6 separate regions of the Homo sapiens genome follow, and regions 1, 2, 3, 4 and 6 are each linked to region 5. Evidence: promoter capture Hi-C in 16 types of primary human blood cells and fetal thymus (Javierre and others, 2016). All regions are on one chromosome and are shown on one strand. The core of a region is centred on a gene start or on the middle of the fragment in contact, and the rest is flanking DNA. Distances in the headings are between cores, read along the strand shown. Region 1 overlaps LOC105376387 (a long non-coding RNA gene). Region 2 overlaps LOC105376387 (a long non-coding RNA gene). Region 3 overlaps LOC105376387 (a long non-coding RNA gene). Region 4 overlaps LINC00707 (long intergenic non-protein coding RNA 707). Region 5 holds the start of SFMBT2 (Scm like with four mbt domains 2). Region 6 overlaps LINC00707 (long intergenic non-protein coding RNA 707).

Evidence for each region. The method cuts DNA at HindIII sites, captures the fragments that hold promoters and counts their contacts. A CHiCAGO score of 5 or more calls a contact.
Region 1: a contact is called between a fragment that was not itself captured here and the fragment with the promoter of SFMBT2 in region 5, in 4 of 17 cell types (erythroblasts, megakaryocytes, total CD8 T cells and 1 more). The highest score is 8.8, in erythroblasts.
Region 2: a contact is called between a fragment that was not itself captured here and the fragment with the promoter of SFMBT2 in region 5, in 1 of 17 cell types (M2 macrophages). The highest score is 6.3, in M2 macrophages.
Region 3: a fragment that was not itself captured here is called in contact with the fragment with the promoter of SFMBT2 in region 5 in 5 of 17 cell types (erythroblasts, M2 macrophages, M0 macrophages and 2 more); the score reaches 14.1 in erythroblasts.
Region 4: a fragment that was not itself captured here is called in contact with the fragment with the promoter of SFMBT2 in region 5 in 4 of 17 cell types (M2 macrophages, M0 macrophages, M1 macrophages and 1 more); the score reaches 10.5 in M2 macrophages.
Region 6: a fragment that was not itself captured here is called in contact with the fragment with the promoter of SFMBT2 in region 5 in 1 of 17 cell types (M2 macrophages); the score reaches 8.0 in M2 macrophages.

What each region holds. Positions count from the first base shown.
Region 1 is chr10:6,895,932-6,899,791 of GRCh38, reverse strand. All of the region lies in intron 3 of LOC105376387 (a long non-coding RNA gene), which reads left to right. Among named protein-coding and RNA genes, the nearest start is that of LINC00707, 120 kb to the right of the region's middle. The HindIII fragment of the contact is 3,581 bases long and covers 1-3,204 here.
Region 2 is chr10:6,879,465-6,882,988 of GRCh38, reverse strand. The region is part of intron 3 of LOC105376387 (a long non-coding RNA gene); the gene reads left to right. Among named protein-coding and RNA genes, the nearest start is that of LINC00707, 100 kb to the right of the region's middle. The HindIII fragment of the contact is 3,051 bases long and covers 741-3,524 here.
Region 3 is chr10:6,850,691-6,854,800 of GRCh38, reverse strand. All of the region lies in intron 3 of LOC105376387 (a long non-coding RNA gene), which reads left to right. Among named protein-coding and RNA genes, the nearest start is that of LINC00707, 73 kb to the right of the region's middle. The HindIII fragment of the contact is 2,111 bases long and covers 1,416-3,526 here.
Region 4 is chr10:6,789,370-6,793,388 of GRCh38, reverse strand. The region is part of intron 2 of LINC00707 (long intergenic non-protein coding RNA 707); the gene reads right to left. Among named protein-coding and RNA genes, the nearest start is that of LINC00707, 12 kb to the right of the region's middle. The HindIII fragment of the contact is 1,330 bases long and covers 1,976-3,305 here.
Region 5 is chr10:7,408,998-7,412,739 of GRCh38, reverse strand. It overlaps SFMBT2 (Scm like with four mbt domains 2), which reads left to right and starts at 1,706. Exons shown (of 21, transcript NM_001387889.1): 1 at 1,706-1,879. RefSeq lists enhancers at 1-536, 537-1,457 and a silencer at 1,693-1,832. The HindIII fragment of the contact is 4,872 bases long and covers 1-2,123 here.
Region 6 is chr10:6,809,687-6,813,580 of GRCh38, reverse strand. The region is part of intron 2 of LINC00707 (long intergenic non-protein coding RNA 707); the gene reads right to left. Among named protein-coding and RNA genes, the nearest start is that of LINC00707, 32 kb to the right of the region's middle. The HindIII fragment of the contact is 7,286 bases long and covers 1-3,894 here.

The DNA of each region.
Region 1 (3,860 bases), core at 165-2,664, 510 kb after region 5:
TTTTATGGTAGATAGTTGTTCCCTTCATGGAGTTTAAAGTATCGTGGAGGAGTGTACGTTCCCAGGAAATGAAATCATTTCGCCAAATTCACTTGACTGTCATCATTAATGTTGGTTGCTGTCCCTGCAGCAGCTTTCTTTCAAAGTTGATTTATCAAGAAGAGTCCATAGGTTGAGAAAAGGCATAAAATAATTCATATCATGAGGGCCTGAAGTAGTAGGAAGTCAGATGGCAATGAAGGAAGCCAAAAAGGGCTCCCCACCTGGGTCTAGTATCTGTCCATGACAGAGACTAAAGTCCAAGCCTCTGTCACACCCCAGTGCTTACCTTAATAATGTTCCACACAGCACCTCGCCTCTCAGGCTACCCTTTACTTTACCTTTTAAGAACAATAATTGCTATAACAACATACACTTCTAATTTTGTCTTTACAAAAACATTACGTGTGCATTTGAAATAAAGGGAAACATGCAAATAAACTGGAGAAAGAGAAAGAAAACCTCATCACAGTCCTATCATCTAGGTAAAACTACCAATAATAGCTCCTGGCATTTCCTGGCCTTTTTATTGCATTTGAACAAAAGTAAGAGTGTATGATACAGTTTTATAAATGTGTCTTTTAAACATTTAATCAGATATCATGAATGTATTTTGATATCAACAGATATAATTTCCCATCCTTTTTAGTGACTGCATGACACTTTATTGCATGAATATAATTTACTTAACCAAGCTCCTATTTTGGGATAGTTTATTTTCAATACTTTCAATGATAACATTTAGACAAGCACTCTCATAGCTAAGCCTTTGTACATTTTAATTGTTTACTTAGAATTTAGTCCTAGGAAGGAATGAAAAAAAAATTATTAAACAGAATACATCCATTGTTAAGGATTTGGCTAAGTGTTGCACCCTTCTCTAATAGAAGGTTTTCACTCATTCATTTTCCTACCTGATGTGTATGAAAGCATCCTGTCCTCACGTCCTCACATCTTAAATTTTTTGTCAGGTTGATAGTTGCAAAATGATATACTATTTTTGTTTTTTAAAATCAATTTGATGAAATTATTATGTACATACAGTATAAAAAATACACTCACTTTACAGGTATGTTCCGCAAGAGTTAACAAACGTACACGCAATGTAACCACGAGCCAATAAAGATATAGAATATTTTTGTCCTTCTAAAAAGTTACCCCATGTCGTTTTGTCCTAGTCCCAGACAATCACTAATTTGTTTGCTGTCACTATAGAGGCCTTTTGATAATTCTTTACTTTTATATATACAGAGTCATACAACATGTACTCTTTTGAGTCTGTATTCATTTACTCTGCATAACATTTTTGACACACATCCATGTTGAGAGCATCAGTAGTTATTTCTTTTTATTACTGGATAATATTGCATTACACAGATATACGCAATTTGCCTACCACTCATTTGCAAATGGACATTTAGGTTGTTCTGAGTTTTAGCCTTAAAAGTAAGTTGCAACGAACATCTGTATACAAGTGATTTTTTGTGGACATGTGTTTTTATTTCCCTTAGATAAATACCTAGGAAAGGAATTATTGAATTGTGCAGTAAATGCATGTTTAATTTCACAAGAAGATGCCAAAGTCGTAACAGTTTATACATCCAAAGCAATCTATGAGCGGTCCAGTTGTTCCATATCTTTGTCAACACTTGCTATCATCAGCCTTTTAAGTTCTAGCCCACCCAGTGGGTGTGTAGTCGTATCTCAATGTGATTCAAATTTGCATTTGCTGATGGCTAGTGATATTGGGCATCTTTTCACGCACTTACTGGCCATTCATATGTCTTCTTTCATGAAGTGCCAGTTCAAATCCTGCCCACTTTTTAACTGGATTATCATTGAGTTAGTGGAATCCTTTATAAATAGTGGATGTAAATCCCTTGTCAGATGTATATTGCTAATATTTTCTTCTAGTCTGTGGCTTGCCTTGTCATTTTGTTGATGGTATCTATGATATCTTCCAAAGACCAGAAGGTTTTAATTTTGATGGAGTCCAAAGTATTATTTTTTTTCTATTATAGTTCTTGCTCTTTTTGTGTTTTGAGAAATCTTTGTCTATTACAAGGTTGTAAATGTGATCACTTACATTTTCTCTTTGAAGTTTTCTAGTATTAGCCAATACATTATCAACTGTGATTCATTTTGAAATAACTTTGTGAATGGTGTGAAGTATGAGTTGAAATTCATTTTCATTTTTTTTTGTTTTAGCACCACTTATTAAAGGTTATCCTTCCCCTATTACATTAGCTTGGTTTCTTAGACAGAAAAGCCAACTAACTATATATGTATGGTTTTATTTCTGGAGTCTGTTTTTAGTTCCAAAATAACATGCCCATTATTAAGTTAATATCACATTTTCTTAATTACCGTATTTTTTGGTACTTCTTGAAGTCAGGTAATATGAGTCCTCCAACATTACTCTCCTTTTTCAAAATTATTTTGGGTATTCTACATTCTTTGCATTTGCATTTTAGAATTAGTTTGTCGTTTTTAAGGGAAGCCTGTAAGAAATTCATTAAGATGGCTTTGAATATATAGATCAATTTAGAGATAACTGATATTTTAATAATACTGAGTCTTTCAATCCATGAGGATTGATGTGGTTTGGCGCTGTGTCCCCACCCAAATCTTATCTCAAATTGTAATCCCCACACGTGGAGGGAGAGACCTGGTGGGAGGTGATTGGATCATGGGGGCGGTTTCTCCTATGCTATTCTCATGATAGTGAGTGAGTTCTCACAGGATCTGATGGTTTTATAAATGGGATTTTCTCCTGTGCTATCTGTCTTTCTCTCCTGCCACCATGTAAGAGGTGCCTGCTTCCCCTAAGCCTTCTGCCTTGATTTTAAGTTTCCTGAAGCCTCCCAGCCGTGTGGAACTGTGAGTTAATTAAGCCTTTTCCCTTATAAATCACCCAGTCTCAGGTGTTTCTTTATAGCAGTGTGAAAATGGACTAATACGGAGATGGTTTATTTCTTTAATTTATTTCAGCAACGTTTTTTGGTTTTCAGTATTTAGGTTTTATACATATTTTATTAAATAATTTTAATATTTTTATGCTATTGTAAATGGTATTAGTTTTTAAAATTTCTTTTTTGAATTGTCCATTGCTAGTGTTTTGAAATATAGTTAAATTTTGTGTATTGACCTTGCATTTTGTAAGCTTTCTCAATGTACTTATTATTTTTGTAGCTAATTTTTAATTTATTTTTATTCTGTGTTTTTTTTTTGAGATGGAGTCTCCCTCTTTCACCCAGGCTGGAGTGCAATGGCATGATCTCAGCTCACTGCAACTTCTGCCTCCCAGGTTCAAGTGATTCTCCTGCCCCAGCCTCTCGATTAGCTGGGATTACAGGTGCGTGCCTCCATGCCCAGCTAATTTTTGTATTTTTAGTAGAGACGGGGTTTCACCATGTTGCCCAGGCTGGTCTTGAACTCCTGACCTCAAGTGATCCACCCGCCTCAGCCTTGTAGCTATTTTTATAGATTTCTTAGGATTATCTACATATGCAGTCATATAATCTGCAAATGAAGACAGCTTTCTTTCAAATCTGTGTACATTTTAATTCTTTTTTAACCTTATTGGGCAAAACCTCTAGCACAGTGTTGAATAGGAGTGGTAAGAGAAGATGTCTTTTCCTTGCTTCTGATCCCAGGGAGGAAGCATTCAGTCTTTAACAAGTTGTTAGTTGTAGGTTTTTCATAGATGTACTTTGTTAAATTGAAGAGCTGCCCTTTATTCCTAGCTTGCTACAAGGTTTTACCATAAATGAGTCTTAATATTTTGTCATGTATTTTTCTGTGCATTTTTGGTGGTCATA
Region 2 (3,524 bases), core at 1,017-3,516, 530 kb after region 5:
AAGTATAGACAAATGATCAGGTTTGGGATGTCATAGTTTATTCATTCAGGAATAAAATAGAGACAAAACGACTCCACGGTAGATAGTGTGAAGTGGAAAAGGGTATTTAGGCAGGATTCTTCAGCAGATTGCATGCTGCCAACCTTGCCTTTTTGGATTGTTGAGAAAACAGTCATATAGAGAAACCATAGATTTCAATGGTGAAGGGGAAGAGAATCAAAAATTGTTATACTTTTATGTCCAGCACATTGTATAAGATCTGGATTTCTTCTTTGTTTCCTGAGGCCAGGACCCAACTGTCTCTTCTAAACTCGTGAACTTTTTTTTTTTTTTTGAGATGGAGTCTCACTCTGTTGCCCAGGCTGGAGTGCACTGGCGCAATCTCGGCTCACTGCTAGCTCCACCTCCCGGGTTCACGCCATTCTCCTGCCTCAGCCTCCTGAGTAGCTGGGACTACAGGAGCCTGCCACCATGCCTGGCTAATTTTTTTTTTTTTTGGTGGGGGGGTATTTTTTAGCCAGGATGGTCTCGATCTCCTGACCTTGTGATCTGCCTGCCTCAGCCTCCCAAAATGCTGGGATTACAGGCATGAGCCACCGCACCTGGCCAAAACTCATGAACTCTTAAAGCAACCATGTGTTAATGAGGCCAGTATGAGATGGGAGTAGGCACTTCATCTTCATCTCATCAAATAAGCAACACATCATTGACTCCATAAGATCTGCAGCTTGATTGAAGCTTCTATGGCAGTGACCCAGATATTCTGGTTCATAAAAATACTAAATCCTTTAATGAAACACACAGAATTAAGTTAATATGATTTATGTCACCCGTCACCCAGGGGGCTGATGCTTCATAGTGATCTTGATTAAAGGGAGATTATGAAATACATGCAACCTCCCTCATTTGCATTTAGTTCAAAGAAAATGGCCCAAATGGAACTAAATAGGCATTTGAGCACAAGGAAAAGATTTTTTTTTTTAAATTAGGCATGAAAATGAAACAACGTGCCAATAATTTGCACAGCATTATTTTTGGACTAGAAAGTGAATTAGGCATGAAAAAAGTTCCAAACTGATTATGTTAATTATGTTTCATCTGAACAAGGAAATTTAATAATCTCCATCCCCCAATATACATCAATCTCAAATTTGGTACTTTAAGCTATTTCCATCTTAGAATGTTGAGTGGTGCATATTTTAAACACATGTGGTTTCTTTTTTGATTCGAAGGAAGAAAAAAGTTAGAAACTAGTATGTAATACTCTGTGACATTTGTTTCATTATCTTCATATTACAGGTAAAAATATTGAAGCTCAGTGGGTCCAATCTTAATAGTAGGAAGAAGTAAAGCAGAAATTTAAATTCACGCCTATCTGTTTCCATAGCTCATTATTTTCTACCGCATCATGTTGCCTTCTATTCTTTCCTTTATATCTGGAGCAAAGACTATTTCGCATGACTAATATACCCGTCAAATCCAGAAATGGTACCTGTAACAGAAAACACTCATCTAGCTAATACTGTGTACATCACTTCCTTGGACATGATTATAGGTTTACTATTATCTCTTTCTATAAAACAGTGGTATCTGCTTCCCTTGGACTGAACTAGGCATTGTTTTCACGTGATTTCATAATTTCATATGATCAATGAGAGCCAGCATTGGTGAGTATGTGAAAATTACAGTGGGCTGGATGCAGTGGCTCATTCCTGTAATCCCAGCACTTTGGAATGTTGAAGCGGGAGGATCACTTGAGCCCAGGAGTTTGGGACCAACCTAGGAAACATAATGAGATCTTGTATCTACAAAACATAAAAATTTAGCCCGTGTGTGGCAGGCAGGCATCTGTGGTCCCAGCTACTCAGGAGGCTGAGGCAGGAGGATGGCTTAAGCCCAGGAGGTCAAGGCTGCAGTGAGCCATGATCACGCCACTGCATTCCAGCAACAAAGCAAGAACCTGTCTCAAAAAACAAAAAATACAGTACATTAGTTGACAATTGCTGACATGAACAGGTGCCTGGCTGTTGGCAAAAAACTGACAGGTCTCTGTGCATTTATTTACCTAACCACATTTAAGATGTATGCAAAACAGCTGATGTAAGAACAAAGAAATGTTAAGAGAAAATGCTAAGAAAATAGTAGAGCAAAGCTCAAACAGATAACTAGATCAAAATGAGATGCTATCATGAGGAAGAGGAATCAACACTGTAGAAGAAAGAGAAGAATGATTGGTTGTAAGAACAAATCATAAAAAGGTTGAAGGGGCCACTAGTCAACAAACTGTAATCACAATGGAACAGCAAATCATAAGAAATAAAACGGACTTGCTATGAAATTAGGTATTATTCTCATACTATGCCTACCTCTTATTCCAGCTGCTACAAATATGTTTTTTTCTGTTGAGAAAAAAACCAGTTTCCTCAAAATAAATGTAATGCTTTTCAATGATTATCATCTTTCAGGGACAGACATTTGTCACAATCATCTTGTATCTTCCAAACCTCTATTTATTTACAAACATTTATGTATGTCCTTTCAGCAGCTTAGTAATTGGACTTGTTAAAGTATTTTATCTAGGAAAGATAATATTGCCAATTGTGTGTGTAATGAATAAATACACAAATGTTAATATCACATTAATGATAATTAAGCTCTGCTGTAGTGATGCGTGTGGTGATGAACTCTGCTAGTAATGTAATGAATTCATTCTCAAAGCACAATGTTCCTGACAGCAATTCACAGCTGAGATCTGGATGGTTCAGTGCAGTATCCCTGGAGTCGAGATTGGTGTTTGGCACAAAGAAGGTGCTCAGTGATTGTTTGTTGAATGAATGAAGAAATAAGAAAAAAAGAGAAGGGACAAAGTCTAACATTGTAACCTACAATTTTAGAAGAAAAGAGAGCAGGAACACAAACCAGCTTCAGTATCAATATGCATTTTTACTACTTGGACAATCAAACAACTGCTAACTTCAAGAGCAGGATAAGTGCTGAGAACCTTAGAGAAGCCCACCTGGGGAGACCACTGTGTACACACTAATTTCAATGCTAGAAGAAGAACCTTGGTAACCGGTGGAGCGCCTATCCTAGATGCAAAGGATTGCATCTCAACAGTTTGCTCGTAATTCTTCCAAGGTTTGTCAAAACTGCAAATAGCTTTACACAGAATGATATTTTGGTAATAATCACTGGAAAAATGAGTATGAGATATAAATCAATAATATGTACAGCTTACAAATGTACCCAAATTAAAGATCTTTTATAGCAATGAAATCTAGGTCCAATAATGTAATAGCAGACACTTCAAATGAAAGGGTTTTACCAAGAAAAGAGGAGCTGCTTTAAATGATTTAATAGCAATCTCAAAAGGCTTCTGAAATTTCAATATGAAATTAATGTTAACCGATATTTTACTACACACCTACAAACAGATGCTAATGGATAAATATTGTGTTTCATTTATTTTATTTTATTTATTTAGTTTTCCAAGACAGAGTCACTCTGTTGCCCAGGCTGGAGTG
Region 3 (4,110 bases), core at 1,222-3,721, 560 kb after region 5:
ATGTAGCTACAACATAGATGAAACTTGAGGACATTATATTAAGTGAAATAAGCCAGTCAGAGGACAAATACTACATGATTCTACTTATATGAAGTAGTTAAAGTAACCAAACTCTTAGAAGCAGAAAATAGCATGGTGGTTGCCAGGGACTGGGGGATAGGCCGAATGGGGAGTTGCTGTTTAATGGGTATAGAATTTTGATCATGAATGATGAAAAAGTTCTAGAGATTTGCTGTAGAACAGTGCACACATGGTTAACAATACTATGTTGTATACTTGAATATTTGTTGAGGGTAGAACTCATGTTGCATGTTTTTTACCATAATAGAGACAAAATCATGCTGTAGCATTTATTGATGGTAAAATGTTTACAATATATTTGTAAATTCTGAAAAACAAATTTATGCATGATATATGTAACTTCAAAAAATACATGCAGAAAAACACATAGAAAATCAACTGTAGGGATAACACCAAACTGTTACTTGTGCTTATCTCTGGGGTATCAGTAATATTAGTTTTCTTTTTTTGAATTTTTATACTTTCCAAAATTAAACATTTGATTTTGTTTCTGAGTTAGTGTTTTAGTTGGTTTTCTTTAGAAATAAAGATGCATTTGCTCAGAATAAGAAATATATTTTCTGAAGCTATTTTTTTTTTTTTCCGAGACGGAGTTTCGCTCTTTTTGCCCAAGCTGGAGCAGTGGTGCGATGTCAGCTCACTGCAACCTCCACCTCCCAGGTTCAAGCAATTCTCCTGCCTCAGCCTCCTGAGTAGCTGGGATTACAGGCGTACATCATCTCACCCAGCTAAGTTTTGTATTTTTAGTAGAGACGGGGTTTCCCCGTGTTGGCCAGGCTGGTCTCAAATGCCTGACCTCAGGTCATGTGCCTACCTCGGCCTTCCAAAGTGCTGGGATTGCAGGCATGAGCCACTGTGCCCGGCCTTTGGAGCTATTTCAAAGTTCTCTTGGATAATGGAAATAGAAAAAACAACAACAACAAAGTAGGATTTTATTCATTCATTTCATCCTACATATATTTACTAAACAGTGTGCCATGCTTTTTCCCTCCCTGTTGGGACATTTTCTGAGAGGTATACTGTCACTTACTGTGTGACTTCAGGTAAGCCATTTGGCCAACGATGAGCTTCACTTCCTGATATTGAAAATGGGGATAATAATAATATGCTCCACCTACTCAATCAGGATTTTGAAGGTTTAATAATGTTAGCAAATACAAAGGCAGCACATTAATTGCAAAACACTGTCATTTTTATGACTATTATCTTTACTATTATATTATCAATTTATTGTATTTTCTCAGATCTTTCAATGTGTGAGGCTGAAACTGCATTTATCAAAACACACTCGGCCTTCCCAGGATCTCCCTAATCTTCCAACAGTATCCCAAGCTTCTTCCTCTCTTCTCTGCAGAGCCAGTCCCAGCTCAACAACCATGAGCTAACGTCCTAAATCTTCTCGCAGAGGATAGTCCAGTAGATTCCATGACTTGCATTAAACTCATTTCCCTTTTTATTTTCCAAACTTGTGAATTTTCTCTTTTTAATAGTTTTACCCTTAGAGTCTTTAAAATTTATATTATTTTCCACGTCATCCCCGTTCTCTGCCCATTCCCACCTTACCATATAACTGACCTGTCGAAGTGGCCTGAGTTCCCTTCAGCATCTCCATACTGCATGGACTTTTCAGGGCAACAGTAGCATGAGATACTCACGAGCAACAAAACGGCTACAGTTTGATATTTTGAGTGCATTCAGAATAACCAAGAATGCATTCAAACCCTACTGCCATATAAAAGGAGAATCCCTTTTCACCTACAAGGAAAGGGATTCCCCTTTTAGATGACAGTAGGGTTTGAGGTGAGTGATAACAGGATATAGCATGGTTAGTAAGCGAAATTATCCCAATAAACATTAGTCTGCTTATCTTCCGTGCATCACATTTATTATTTTATTTTTGTGTGTGTACATTTTTGTACCCAGCAAGATCTTAGTGTTATGGTTGAATTTTGTAGTTTGTAGACACTCCATGTCTCAAAAAAAAAAAAAAAAATATATATATATATATATATATATATATTTGAGATGGAGTCTCGCTCTGTGGCCCAGGCTGAGTGCAGTGAGGCTGTCTCAGCTCACTGCAACCTCCACCTCCCGGGATCAAGGAATTCTCCTGCCTCAGCCTCCTGAGTAGCTGGGAATACAGGAACACACCACCACACCTGACAAATTTTGTATTTTTAGTAGAGACGGGATTTCACCATGTTGGCCAGGTTGATCTCAAACTCCTGACATTAAGTGATCTGCCCACCTTGGCCCCCAAAGTGCTCTGATTACAGCGTGAGCCACCGTCCCCAGCCCCTGTATGTTTTTCTGTCTCACCCTGTGTGTCCCTTCTCCTCTGGTGAATATTAGGTTTTATTCTTTGCATTTTCACCAGAATAAAAGTAAAAGAGTTACTGTGCTTCTCCCAGACTGCCAATCTATTTATTTGCGTCTTACTTTCCTCAAAAGGGAGTTGGTAAGTGATTTTTACAAAAAGGGGCTCATTTATATTTTATATGCATGGTAGATAAAATAAAGATAAAAGAGAAAACAGAACTCACATGGAAAGAGAGGGGGAAGAGGAAGATTAGGGGAGAACATTACTAAAAATGAGCACGAAATTGTCTGAATTTCTTGTTACCCAGTATAATAGAGAAATAAGATAATGCTCTATGCAGTTTGTGTGATAAAAGAAACCATATTGACTTGCTATAAGAGACAATTTTATATTCTATCAAGAAATCCTGTAGACTCTTATTAGGGACATAACATAAACCATGTCCTCAGAACTATTTTCCCAGAAAACATATGCTTTGTAAATTATGTTTATTATCTTACCGGAAGATTTTAAAAATAATTTCATAGAACAAAGAGAGAGTGGAAATGAACCATATTGTTTTGGGGAATGGGACTATCTTAAAATTTTTCTTCCTTTTGCTTTTCTGTATTTTTCCAATTTGTCTATAATGAGTATGAATTACTCATATACGGAAAAAATAAACTTTACTTAAAAATAATAAATAACTGCACTTCACGAAGGTTTTTCTTATACCAGCCTTTGGTAAGAGCTGAGAGCATGGTCCTGAATCTTTGTTCAGGGAAAGGGCTTCTATGAGGACCAAATCATTTTAAACCAAGGAGTTTACATTCTCATGCTCTGCTTGACACAAGTATCTAATGACAAAGTTCAACTTGTTCCTTGGACTGTCTCAACTACCATTTATCTCAACATTTTTGGACATGAGTTAAGTAGCTGTCAATCGGAAGTTTAACTCTCAACTTACTACCAAAAAGCTGAGATTCTTTCTTAGAAGAAAAGGTGATCAAAAAATGCTAAACCTTAGAGAGTCAAGAAGCAATATCAACATGATGCCATGAAATCTAAGAGCTGCTGATTTATGGGATTTTTGGAAAGAGGCTGCTCCATCTTCACATAACAGTAGCAGCATGGAAGGAAGCTTGCTTCAGGGAGGGAGAAATTTTTTTTTTTTAATTAAAGGAAGGTTTGAATTGACCCCAAGCCTGGGTGAGTACTCAGTTGAGTCAGCATAGTTCTGCACCAAGAAGCTTGGAAAAGACTTCTTTGGTCTGTGCAGCTTAAAGGACAACATGCATTTTAAATCAAGTATGTAACTACTTGTTAATAATCTTGGTAAATTTTTATACTTTCCAAAATTAAACATTTGATTTTTCTCTGAGTTAGTATTTTAGTTTTTTTACTTTCGAAATGAAGATGAATGTGTTTGGAATAAGAAATATGTTTTCTGGAGCTATTTCAAAGTTCTCTTGGATAATAGAAAACAACAACAACAACAAAGTGGGATTTTATTCGCTTATTTTACCCTGCAAATTTTTACTGAACAGTGTGCCATACTTTTTTCCTAGGCTACAAACCTGTACAGCATGTGATTCTACTGAATATACGGGCAATTGTTAACACAATGGTAGGTATTTGTGTATCTAAACATACCTAAACATCGAAAAGTAGAGTAGAGGCCCAGTGTGGTGGCTTATGCCTGGAATGCCAGCACTGCGGGAGGCCAA
Region 4 (4,019 bases), core at 1,391-3,890, 620 kb after region 5:
ATTTCAAGATAATTTGTTTCCCATTATATTCCTAAGTATTTTATTTTATGTATCTGAAACATTGTTTCTGAAAAGGAACTCACAGGGCTCATCAGGCCACCAAAGGGGCCCGTGACACCAAAACAGTTAAGTGTCCCAGTTTGGTGACGGGCAGATGACATCCCCTTCAAAAGACCCATCACTGGTACCTCTTGCTAGTTTTGGGTCTTTGAGGGAGAAACTTCCTCCGTGTGTGTGTGTGTGTGTGTGTGTGTGTGTGTGTGTGTGTGTATGTGTGTGTGTTTGAAACATAGTACAGATACTACCCCATCCCAACCTTAGTTCTATTTTGGGAGCCCAAAAAATAGAGAAATGTGTATTTTACATGGCAGCATGGAGTCCTAGCACTTCAGAGGGTTATGACTGCGCCTGAGTCTCCCCCTGCCTCAAGGAGACACAGGGTGGCTGAGAGAGACTGAGCCGGCAGGTGCAAAGGACCACTCCACATGGGGCAGCAGGAGGCCAGAGCACAAGGCATGATGGACCCTTCACCTGGGGCCCAGGAGAGATGCTGTTTCAGCTCAGGTGAGGCCACCAGGAATGGTGAGGACCCAACTGGACATGGCATATCCGCCCAAGTCAGCAGGGAGAATGCTGACTGTCAGAGAATACTGGGAAGATGAACATGGGCCATGTCCAAACCCCCATCCTCTCCCTCTCTTTCTCCAGCTCTGAAATGTGTTACCAGGGGGGCAAGAGAGACTCTCAGATCTGTGAGTGTAAAGCCCAAATCACTGAAAAGCAGAAGTAACAGGTTTTCACTGAAATTGACTGGATCTTATTTTTTAACTCCAGGAGGTATGAGAACTTGAAATCGACATTTAGTCACAGAAAAATAGAAGTTCTTTTTTTGTACCCTTCAATTTCATGATCTGTGAAAACATCACATATTCGGTAAGTTTCTTTAGATGGTAAATTTCTGATCTAATAACAAACATTTTACTAAGACTCTTTATATATACATTTAATGATTTTTCATAAAAGCTCTACTAATTATTCTCCCAAGCCACAAGCTCACTAGTACTGAGTATTATCATAATTTAAATATTTCCCAGTTTGATTTTTAAAAGCACAGTTATCTGGTATCCAATTTTACCATAATTTGAAGCCATTTGTATTCTTCTGTGAAATATGTATTCAAGACCATTGCTCATTTTACTTTATGGGTATTAGTTCTTTTATTGATTTGGTTGATCTTGCCTACATTCCTTCCCACCTCCACCTGCCTTTTTTTTTTCTTCTTCTTCTGGTGAATAGTTATTTTGTTCTGTTCAGGTTTGCAAACTATATCTTCAACCAGCTTAAGAAACAAAGAACCTCCAGTTTCCTTGGACAACTTCTTAGGAGAGGAGGAGAGATTGTAAAGCAACAATAACAACAAATTTCTCAGCTAAGAAAGTCTCAAAGTTCCCGCTTTCTACAAGATTGTTCTTGTTTTAGAAAGGAAGACTGGATCATGTAGCAATGACTGCTGGTGACCTATTCAATGTCCACCAATATTCTTCTGTATTACCGAAACTCTGCTTCTTTTGGAGTATCAATACACTTCATTTTCCAGCTTTTGTTGCAACCAGCACAGCCATGTAACCAGTTCTAGCCATCAGGATGTGAGCAGCCCTTCTGGCAGGGCTGTCTCATAGGAGATGACAGCATGAAACTGCCATAATCATCACAGACTGCTTTGCTCTGGACTTCGTTGTGAGTGTAAGCTTGTGTGTATTAAAGCACTGGTACTAACTGTACTAAAGTACAGTTAGCTGAAACCCATCCTAACAGAGAGACCCAAAGAGTTCATGCACTCTGTTCCTAACCAAGAAAATTCATGAAGGTAGAATGTAAGGGTCTCCAGAGGAGCATGGTGCTGGCTGTTCTAATGGTTTTTGAAAAGGAAATGCAAAAAGGAAATCCCATCAAATTCTTGATAGCACAAAAAGCTTTGCTTTTGGCATAGTCAGGGCTCAGACAGAGAGTACTTAGGCTTTTAAATTAAGTGTCTGTCAGCTTTTAACATTTGGGGAGATTTCTATATTAAATATATGAACAATGACCTTAGCAAAGAATTCCAATTTTATTGCTGGTGCTGGATATAGAAAGCAAAGAGGGTGTCCTTCAGGGAAGTGACTGGGTGGGTGTCATGTGGCTCCCCTGTCACTGGCCCAATTCATCTCCCAACCTATCACTCATTTTACATTGTTCCAAAATGTTAGATGCCTAAAGAGTAAGGTCCAAATGCTACAAGCCTACTTCAGACCTCTGCACAACACTGCCCTGTCTGAATATTCTAGCCTCCCTTTCTTCTGCAGCTCACATACGCACTTAGGACACATTTGATGCCTCACTGTAAGATAGTTTCGTGTTTCTTTACTGTTGCTTCTACTGTCCTTTTAACCTGACATACTCTTATCTCAAGCATCTGTCCATTCATTCATATGTACATTTAACCAATATTTATTGAATATTTGTTAGGCATCAGGCAGGCATTAGGATAGGTGTTAGGGTTACCCCAACAAACTTGTTATGGTTCTAGTCCCTAACAAAATTCCACTTACCACCCATGCACCCAACGGCTTAGCTCAAGGCTCCCCGCCCCCCTACCCGGCCCATGAAGCCTTCCTCTGCTCTCCGCTCTTATTCCTTAAGATTTCCTGGCTATTTTTGGCTCACTGCATTTTCATATAAATCTTGTAATCACTTGAGTCAATTTACAAATACACACACATGTAATCTCCTGGGATTGCATGAGGCTGGGGATACATGTAGGAAGAGTCGACATGTTTACAAGTGAGTCTTCTGATTGACAAATGTCCTAGATCTACTTATTTACTATATCTACTTATTTAGATCTCCCTTTGAGTTCCCTCTCAGAGATGCTTTGTGGCTTTAGAACACAAATCTCATATACCTCTTTAAAATTTCTATTTAAGTATTTAATATTCCTCGATGCTGTTGCAAATCCTGCAATTGCAAGATTTTATTTTCTCTGTGTTGCAGGTCTATAGATATAGAGGTGATTTTTTTATACTGACCTTACATGCGGAGACTGCGTAAAGAGACATTAAATTTAAGTTGTTTGCAGATTCTTTTGGATTTTTCTTCATATAGAGACAGTTCATCTGTGTCTAGTAAGTTTTTTCTTCCTTTCCAATGATTCTGCCCTTTATACGTTGGCTTGCATTATTGCCCTGGCCTGGACTTCCAGGACCATGTAGGTTAGAAGTGGTAAACAGTAGGCACCCTTATTTCTTTCCACCACTTGAGGGAAAGCTTTCACTATTTTGCCTTTAATTTGCAGTTTGGGTAAGCCTCCTCTGGGCTGATCCTCTTCCGGCAACATGAACTTCCAGGGCTTTGACTGAGGCTGGTGCATCCCAGGAACACTGCCTCTCCTGGGAACTGAACTCTAACCTGGGTCTCCAAGGCATCGTCACACTGCAGAAAACTCGACCCAGCTCTTCTGATGTACTCAGCTTAGCTTTCCTATGTCCTTCCCTTGCAGCTTCAGAATTCAGCAAATGTCTTGAGGGGGAAGCTGGTCCTGTGTTGAAGGCCCTATTGTGTTGCACATCCTGGCTACCTTCCCTGAGCTCTGCTGAAACCTCTGCATCCTGCCCGCTGAGAAGGGGTTTGGGTAGAGTTTAGATGCCAAGCTTCTCGTTCTCACCCAGAACTCACAGTGAACCCACAGTGCCCCAGGATAAAAGGCTGGTGCAGATTCTCCCCTTTGCTGTCTTTCAGCCTCTCTACCTACATTGCTTCAACAGCTCCTTGGTACCTTTAAAACAGATAATTTTTGGATTTTATCTGTTTCATCTAGTTGTTCTGATTTTCAGGATTAGTCTGTCACCAATATCTCCATCTTACTCAAAAGCAGAAGTCCCATAAAAGCTTTTTCATATGTGCTTCCAAATTTATCTTTGATTTATTATACACTTCCAAATTTATTCCTCCTTGGGAGGTGGAGTATGAGGATCAAAGCAAAC
Region 5 (3,742 bases), core at 457-2,956:
GGCTTGATGTCCCCAACAGCTGGGGACTGGAGAGCTGGAGGGGTCGCAGACTCAGGCTAGAGTTTAAAGTGCGCCGCGCGGCGAGTCGCTGGACTCTTCTGGGTCTCACGTGGCTCCTGTGTCACATGGAGTGACAGGCCGGCGGAAGGCGCTTTAGTCGTCGCCCAGCGTTCTCCAAGGTGTAAGGAGGCAGGATCTTCCCATACTGGCGGCGCAGGGGGCCTCACGGCTGCGGACGCCCGCCCTGGATCTCTCAGCTCGGCAGATCCTTTGGGTGGAGAGGCGCTCTCCAGGGTCGCGGCGAAGGAGAGCGGCTTCTCGGCACGTCCCTCCGTATTTCTTCTAGATCAGCTCCGGCCCCACCGTCCAGGAGAGGGCCCGCCTGAGGACCTCTGTCTGTGCCGCGCGTGGTCAGCCCCGGTCCCCTCACTCCATGGCTGGCCCCTAGCCCTTCAGAGCGGACACCTCTCCTTAGGGATGCAGGGCGAGGAAGGGCGGGTGGAGCTGCGAACCCACGGGGACCTGGAGGACCTCTTGGCCCCCTGGAGAGGGGTACTATGAGAGGGATTCATGGGACACAGATTTGGGGGACTGGGTAATTTTACCCCCTTTGGCAACCATAAAAACCCTGAGCAAACGTGTCCATTCGCTATTTCGCAGAAATATACAATGCAGGCCCACACAGGCATCTCTGCGAGGCCCCCTAGTTAAGGGCGCAGCGTTCTTCGGAAGCTCTTGGTCTTGCTACCAGGGCGTCACCGGCTTTTCCGCACTGGGGACATTTCGTTTGGGCTCTGCGCAGCCGTTGCACCTAAGGCCCTGGGAGCTCCGCGTTCCTCCCCAGGCGCCCGGGACAAAGTGCCCGAGGGCTCCGCAGACGTCCAGCCCTGCCCGGGGCTCACGGCCGCCGGGGCTCTCCAACGGACCGTCGAGGGCCACGTTTTGCTGGGGTGTGAGCGACGATTCTTTTCCCGCCCTATGAGGCCCGCCACTAGCTAGGTGCCCCATGAGACGCCGTGGCGAGCACGGCTACCTGGCAGCTCGCCCGGGCAGCCCCAACTTAATTTCCTGCCCCTCGGGGCACCTTTCCCTCGAATAGCTCTCCTCGGCCCCTCCAGCCCTGCCCAAGGGGCCTGGAAATGTTCGCAGCTTCAAGAAAGGCTCTATTTAAGCACAGGATGGGGTGGGGCGGGCGGGGCCAAGATTGCCCTGGGGATTGAATTTATCTCCGCTCCCAGCGATCCCCGGCGGATAAAGCGCAAGTTTGTGCACACGGTCGACTGAGCCATTGGAAACCCAGCTCACGAACCGCAGCCAGGGAAACGGGAGTTTGCCCAGTTGTCCTTGCGGAGGGGTGTGCGGAAACGCCCGCGATGGGAACTTTCTGCAGATCATGTATGGAGGGAGCTCACAAAAAGGAGGAAGGGGAGCGCGGTGGGGAGGAGGCCGCGTGGGCGTGGAAGGTCCCAGGGTCCTGGGGGTGCCCGCCTGCTTAGGCGCAGGGAATGGCGCGGAGCTGGCTGGGGAAGGAGCCGATCACGTCCCGCAGGCTAATTGGCTTAAGAAATTTTGCAAGCGCTGGAAAAGGTCGTTGAAGGAGTTCGCTGCACGCGCACGCACACACATACACACACACACAAAATCTTAAAAAAAAAAAAAAAAAAAAAAAAAAAAGAGCGCCGAGCATGCGCACAGAGAGGATGCCATATTGGAATGAGCTGTAGTGGGAGCCGGAGGACCGGAGCGGGCGCGCGAGGGAGGCGGCGGGCGGGGAGCGAGCGGGCAAGGGCGGGCGAGCGAGCAAGCGAGCGAGGCCGGTGCCCTCCCGGGCGGCGACCGGGGCCTGGGTCCACGCCGAGGGCAGGACGAACTTCACCAGGTAGGACGCCGCGCCGGCTGCTGTCCCCGGCGCCCAGGCTGGCCGGAGAGCAGCCCTTCGGCCCGCAGGTTGAGTGCGCTGGTCAGGGGCTTTTTCCAGCCTAGGAAAAAAAAGGAAAAAAAAAAAAAGGAAGGAAGCCTGAGGGAGCTGGGGTTGGAGGTGGCGGGTGGGGGAAGGCTGGGGAGGGTGCAGGGGAGCGAAAGAGAAGGGCAGGAGAAGAAAGCGACTGCACTTGAGCGAAGCTTCAAACTCCTCTGTGCGCTCCAGGTTGTCATTTTTGCTTCCCGGGTCCCCTTCGCCTGCGTCTCCGGGCTCGGAAAAGCCGAGCCGTGCGGGAGTCCGTCCGGAGTTGCAAAGTGTCCTCCTTCCCCGGGCGCAGCCTGTCCCCTCCCGCCGCCCACCTTCCTCGTTTCTGCACTCATTTTAGCGACGCAGCCGCCGCTGCTACCTACCCCGCGCTCCCGCGTCTCCTCCGCGCTGGGGTCTCCCCTTTCTTTTGGTTTGGGTGGGAGAAAAAGATGGTGAGGACGGGGAATCGGAGACCGGCATGGGGGTAAAAATCGTGCAGACATTCGGAATCGCTCCCTTGGAAACATTTGCCTGAGCAACTGAAATAAAATTGGCAGTAGTAGTTTTGGAGCGTGCTCCAGCGAGGATGGTCTTTTTGTTCATTATTTTCTCTTTAAAGTAATATCCTGTCACTTAGGGGCTTTCCGGTTGTCTCCTCTTATTCGACCCCCTTTCAAAATTGCTGACTTGAGCTGGTTCTGGAGTTTATTTTTTAATATGCGTGCGTGGGTATGTGTATGTGTGTGTATGTTTTGCAGAAATCCGCCAAAATGCAACTGTAGGAACTGCGAGATGTATTTATTGATTTTGACCAGGGGCGGTGGGAAGGGGCTGGAGGGAGCTGGGGGATCCTGGAGGGTGGGAAGTGGCTGATTCTCGGTGGCCGGACACTCATCCAGAGCCTGATCCGTACTCGTGTTTTCTTGGAAGCGCCACAACTGCGGGGAAGGAGTCTTTAGAAACCGTGCCAGTTTCAATATGGCGGGCTAAGGTGGCTTTTAAAAACTGAAAATAAAGGTTTTGAGGTGGGAAAAAACCCAGCTGAAGTTTCCACCCCTTAGTTTCGACTCTCTTTGGCTACCCCAGGAAGCGCTTTAGCGAATTAAGTGGGGAAAAAAAGAAGGAATGGGCTGTCCGGTTTTTTTTTTCCGTGGTTAGAGTCTGTGTGTCAAGTCCATTGCTAGGGGGGAAAGGGATGGAGAAGTGCCCCTGGCCCGGACCAGGGCACCGAAACGCAACTGTCGTGTGTGCCTGTGGATTAGTGTGCAGGCCTGCGTGTGCGCAGTTTTTTTGGGTGTGTGTGTCAAAGAGAACCACCCCGAATGTGTGTGTGCGTCTTGGAACCAGACCCTGCCATGATTTGACGTGACAAACTGCGGACACGTGGTGTAAAGTACATGAGGGCAGAGGGAGTGATTTATTTTGTCTTTCTAGGAGACGAGCTAGCTCTCGCCTTGTGTGTGCTGGATCCTGCGCGGGTAGATCCCCGAGTAGGTGGGGCGAGGAGGTGCTTATTAAAAGGACTAACTGTCCCGGGTATTGGGTGCAATCGGGCTGCAGACGCCAGCCGGATTTCGTGTGTGCAGGGGGCGCGCTGCACTTAATAGTGGGCTCCTGCTTTCCTCCACGCCGCTCTGGGGTGGGAGGTGGGGGACCGGGACCGAAGCTTGGAGAAGACCAAAGTGGTGGTGGTGGTGGTGGGGTGGGGCAGAAGGGCGGGAGCGCGCGGCTCTGGGAGACAAGCACGTAGGGTCGAGGCGAGGGGTTGCCTTCCTTACTTTTGGGTTTCGCGCT
Region 6 (3,894 bases), core at 285-2,784, 600 kb after region 5:
CCAATCACATTTTAAAAACAAACTTGAAAAAAAGCTGGTGCAGAATGGGACACAAAGCTGGAATTCAGGCATCTTTCCCACAAGGCCTTTCTGGCTCTATTTAGCCAAATTCTGGCTCCAATACCCAGATTCTGGCTCTATTTAGTCAATGACATAACCTCCCAGTCCAGTGACCCCTCACTCACATTATGAATTATCGTTCTTAAAGTAAGGCCAATTCAAGAGAATTTAAAAATGACGTGATCTCTGACAATATTTTTGAAACTAGGTAGATTTCACTTAGTATGCATTTTATGGAGATCATAAATCCAAGTCCACCTGAGGCTGGGTCAACCAATTAGAAATCGGGAGATGAGTTAACAAATACTTATTCTACTAGATGTATATCTAAAATGTGTATTTCATTTGAACCCAAATTAGTCTCTTGTGTAGTTTCTATTAAAAATTTGTGCTGAGACAGCTTGATTCTACAGACAATCTTAGCTCTAATCCAGAGCCCTGGAAGTTTCTTAGAATCTGAAATGAGTGATAGTAGCTTTTGTGCTATTATTTACACCATATATCATATTAGGATTTACTTAGTCGATGCTTTCATAGAATATGATATTGATGGACAGCAAAGTGCACAAAGTAATTAAGCAAACAAAAAGCAGCCCACTTAGAGGAAAAATTGCGAAGAGTAAGTTTAGTCAGAGATGCTAGGCAAACTACCAACTATAGAAAGATATTCAGCTAATTCACATCAGGGTTAAGAATATTTAGAAGAAACATTTCGGGCAAGTATGCAGTGAACAGAAGATCAGAAGAGATCAAGACTAGTTTAGAAGACATATAATCAAAAGTCACCAAAATTCAAATCAAATCTATATGATTCAATTTAACAAGCATTCACTTTTCAAATACTCTGTGCCAACACACTGTAGCAGGTGCTCTGATATTTAATATATTACCCTTGACCTCAAAGAATTTAGACCTAGAAAGGAAAGTTAGAAAAAGGCATAAGGGAATTTAAAAAACAACTCACAGTAAGATAATTGAAGAAAGTAATTGATTATTGGCCGGGTGCAGTAGCTTATGCCTGTAATCCCAGCACTTTGGGAGGCCCAGGTGGGAGGATTGCTTGAGTCCAGAAGTTTGAGAACAGCCTTGGCAATATGGTGAAACCCCATCTTTACCAAAAATACAAAAAATGCCAGGCATGGTCGTATGCACCTGTAGTTCCAGCTACTCGGGAGGCGGAAGAGGGAGGATCGCTTGATTCCAGAATGTTGAGGCTGCAGTGAGCCAACATCACACCACTGTGCTACATAACCTGGGAGACAGAGCAAGACCTTGTCTCAACAACAACAACAAAAAACAAAAACAAAAAAAAAAGAAGAAGAAGGAAGAAAGAAAGAAAAGAAAAGAAAAGAAAAAAAGTTGATTATTAAATTAGATGCCTGGGTTTGAATTCCACCAAATCACTTATTTCTTTGTCTGTTTCCTCAATGACATATGAGGACAATAAGACCATGTAGACCAGTAGACCATTTAGAAATGTTGGGTGTAAAAGTACTTTTTAATGTTTCTTCTCTCCCTGGGAATAAACTCATGGGCAGGAACTGAGGCCCTCAGGGATTTAACAACTGGACAAATAAACATGAAAAGGGCCATAGAGTTTAACTCCCAGTGCTGTTGTGAGGAAAAAGAACCCCTTAAGAAGACAGAGTTCCATGTTTCTGTGACAGGTGGTGAGTGGGAGAATCCTGGTGGCATGCGACAGGACGAGAGGAGGACATGCGGGAACTTTGGGTGAAGTGCAGAGTACATCGAAGGAATGAGGGAAAGATTGGAAAGGAAATCTGTCCTTAATTAGGTCATATGGAACCTTTGTTTTCAAGTAGGACAGTCATATTCAGAGCTGTTTGAAAAAGAAAAAAATCTGGAAATAATGTGTAAGTGCGCTGAGAGGCTGGTGATACAGAAAACAGAAAGAGTATCAGAAAGCCTTTGTCTATAGGGAAACAACATGTCCCTGAGTATCTAAGGTGGAAATGGTAGCGGGAATTACCAGGAAGGAAAGATGTGGAGAACAGGGCTAAATTTTCCTTGGATTTCATGGAAGCCCACCCTTGTGATAATGACCATGGTGGCTCATATTTGTACCACGGTAGAGACTGTCTTCTGAATAGCCTTGCTGGCTAGGGTGAGTCTATCCTGAGTAGAGGTTTGAGTCATCAGAGCTCTTCACAAAGATGAATCTGGCAGCAGTGTGGACATGGATTATGAAGAAACTGAACTCAGAAGAAGTGGGAGGTGCTGGGAATAGCTCAGGTGGTAGACATGATTTAGCAAAACTGAACTAAAATGTGTGGGTGGTGGGGCAAAGACATAAAACATGGTCGTGGCACATTTCTCCACACCATTTTTATTTTTACCCTGAGGCAGGAGAACCCTAACTGAGCCTTAAGTCCATGTCACTCACACCGCCTGCTGCACTCTTTGTCCAGGTAAGAGGTAACAGCCCAAACTGATGTGTTGGCAGTGGTTGTTGAAAAGATGAATGTGTTCCTGGCTTATAGAACATAGTCATTCATTGAATGTGGAAATCAGAATGGTGAATAGTCAAAGATGACACCAGGTTTTACAGCTTGAATGATTGAAAGAACGTTAGTTCCATTACATAAAATCAAGCAGAGAGTGGGATTTCGGTTTTGGACAGATTGAGTTGGAGGTAATGGCAGATGGACACCTAGGTAGAGAAATTCAACAGAAAGCTGGAAGTGTTGGAGTTTTAGGGAAGGAGCAGAGCTGAGTATAAAGACTTAGAAGACATACCATTAAATCTGTAGTCGAAGCCAGAGGAGCGATTAATTTCCTGAATTAATAAAGCAGTTCCTACGATGGCAGATGAAGCAACAGTATTCATCACTTCATCCTGGTTCCCACAGTCACATCGAGAGCAGATACAGCTCTCAGAGTGGAAAGAACTTTGCCTGGTTTCTTCGTATTCAGATGTAAAGGGAGAAGAGACTATGATTTAGTTGATTTAATCAGCTTAGTCCACCAGACCACATAATTAAGCCCTCTCTACCACACTTCTAGTCTCATCTGCTTTGTCCCTAAATTACTCAATTGGTATAGTGACAATGATTAAGTATCCAACTACACCACTGTGTATGGGATACAATCATTATAAATCTTAAAGGAATTGTCCAAAGAACTTAACCTGATATGATGTTCTAATAGCATGTAAAGTGAAGCTGAGTTATCAGAGGTTTATTTTATGAAGAGTTTTCTGGGGGAGGAGCCAAGATGGCCAAATAGGTACAGCTCCGGTCTACAGCTCCCAGCATGAGCGACGCAGAAGATGGGTGATTTCTGCATTTCCATCTGAGGTACCAGGTTCATCTCACTAGGAAGTGCCAGACAGTGGGCGCAGGACAGTAGGGGCAGTGCACCGTGTGCCAGCCAGAGCAGGGCAAGGCATTGCCTCACTCGGGAAGTGCAAGGGATCAGGGAGTTCCCTTTCCTGGTCAAGGAAAGGGGTGACAGATGGCACCTGGAAAATCGGGCCACTCCCACCCGAATACTGCGCTTTTCTGACGGGCTTAGGAAACAGCGCACCAGGAGATTATAGCCTGCACCTGGCTCAGAGGGTCCTACGCCCACAGAGCCTCACTGATTGCTAGCACAGCAGTCTGAGATCAAACTGCAATGTGGCAGCGAGGCTGGGGGAGGGGCGCCCGCCATTGCCCAGGCTTGCTTAGGTAAACAAAGCAGCTGGGAAGCTCGAACTGGGTGGAGCCCACCATAGCTCAAGGAGGCCTGCCTGCCTCTGTAGGCTCCACCTCTGGGGGCAGGGCACAGACAAACAAAAAGACAGCAGTAACCTCTGCAAACTTAAATGTCCCT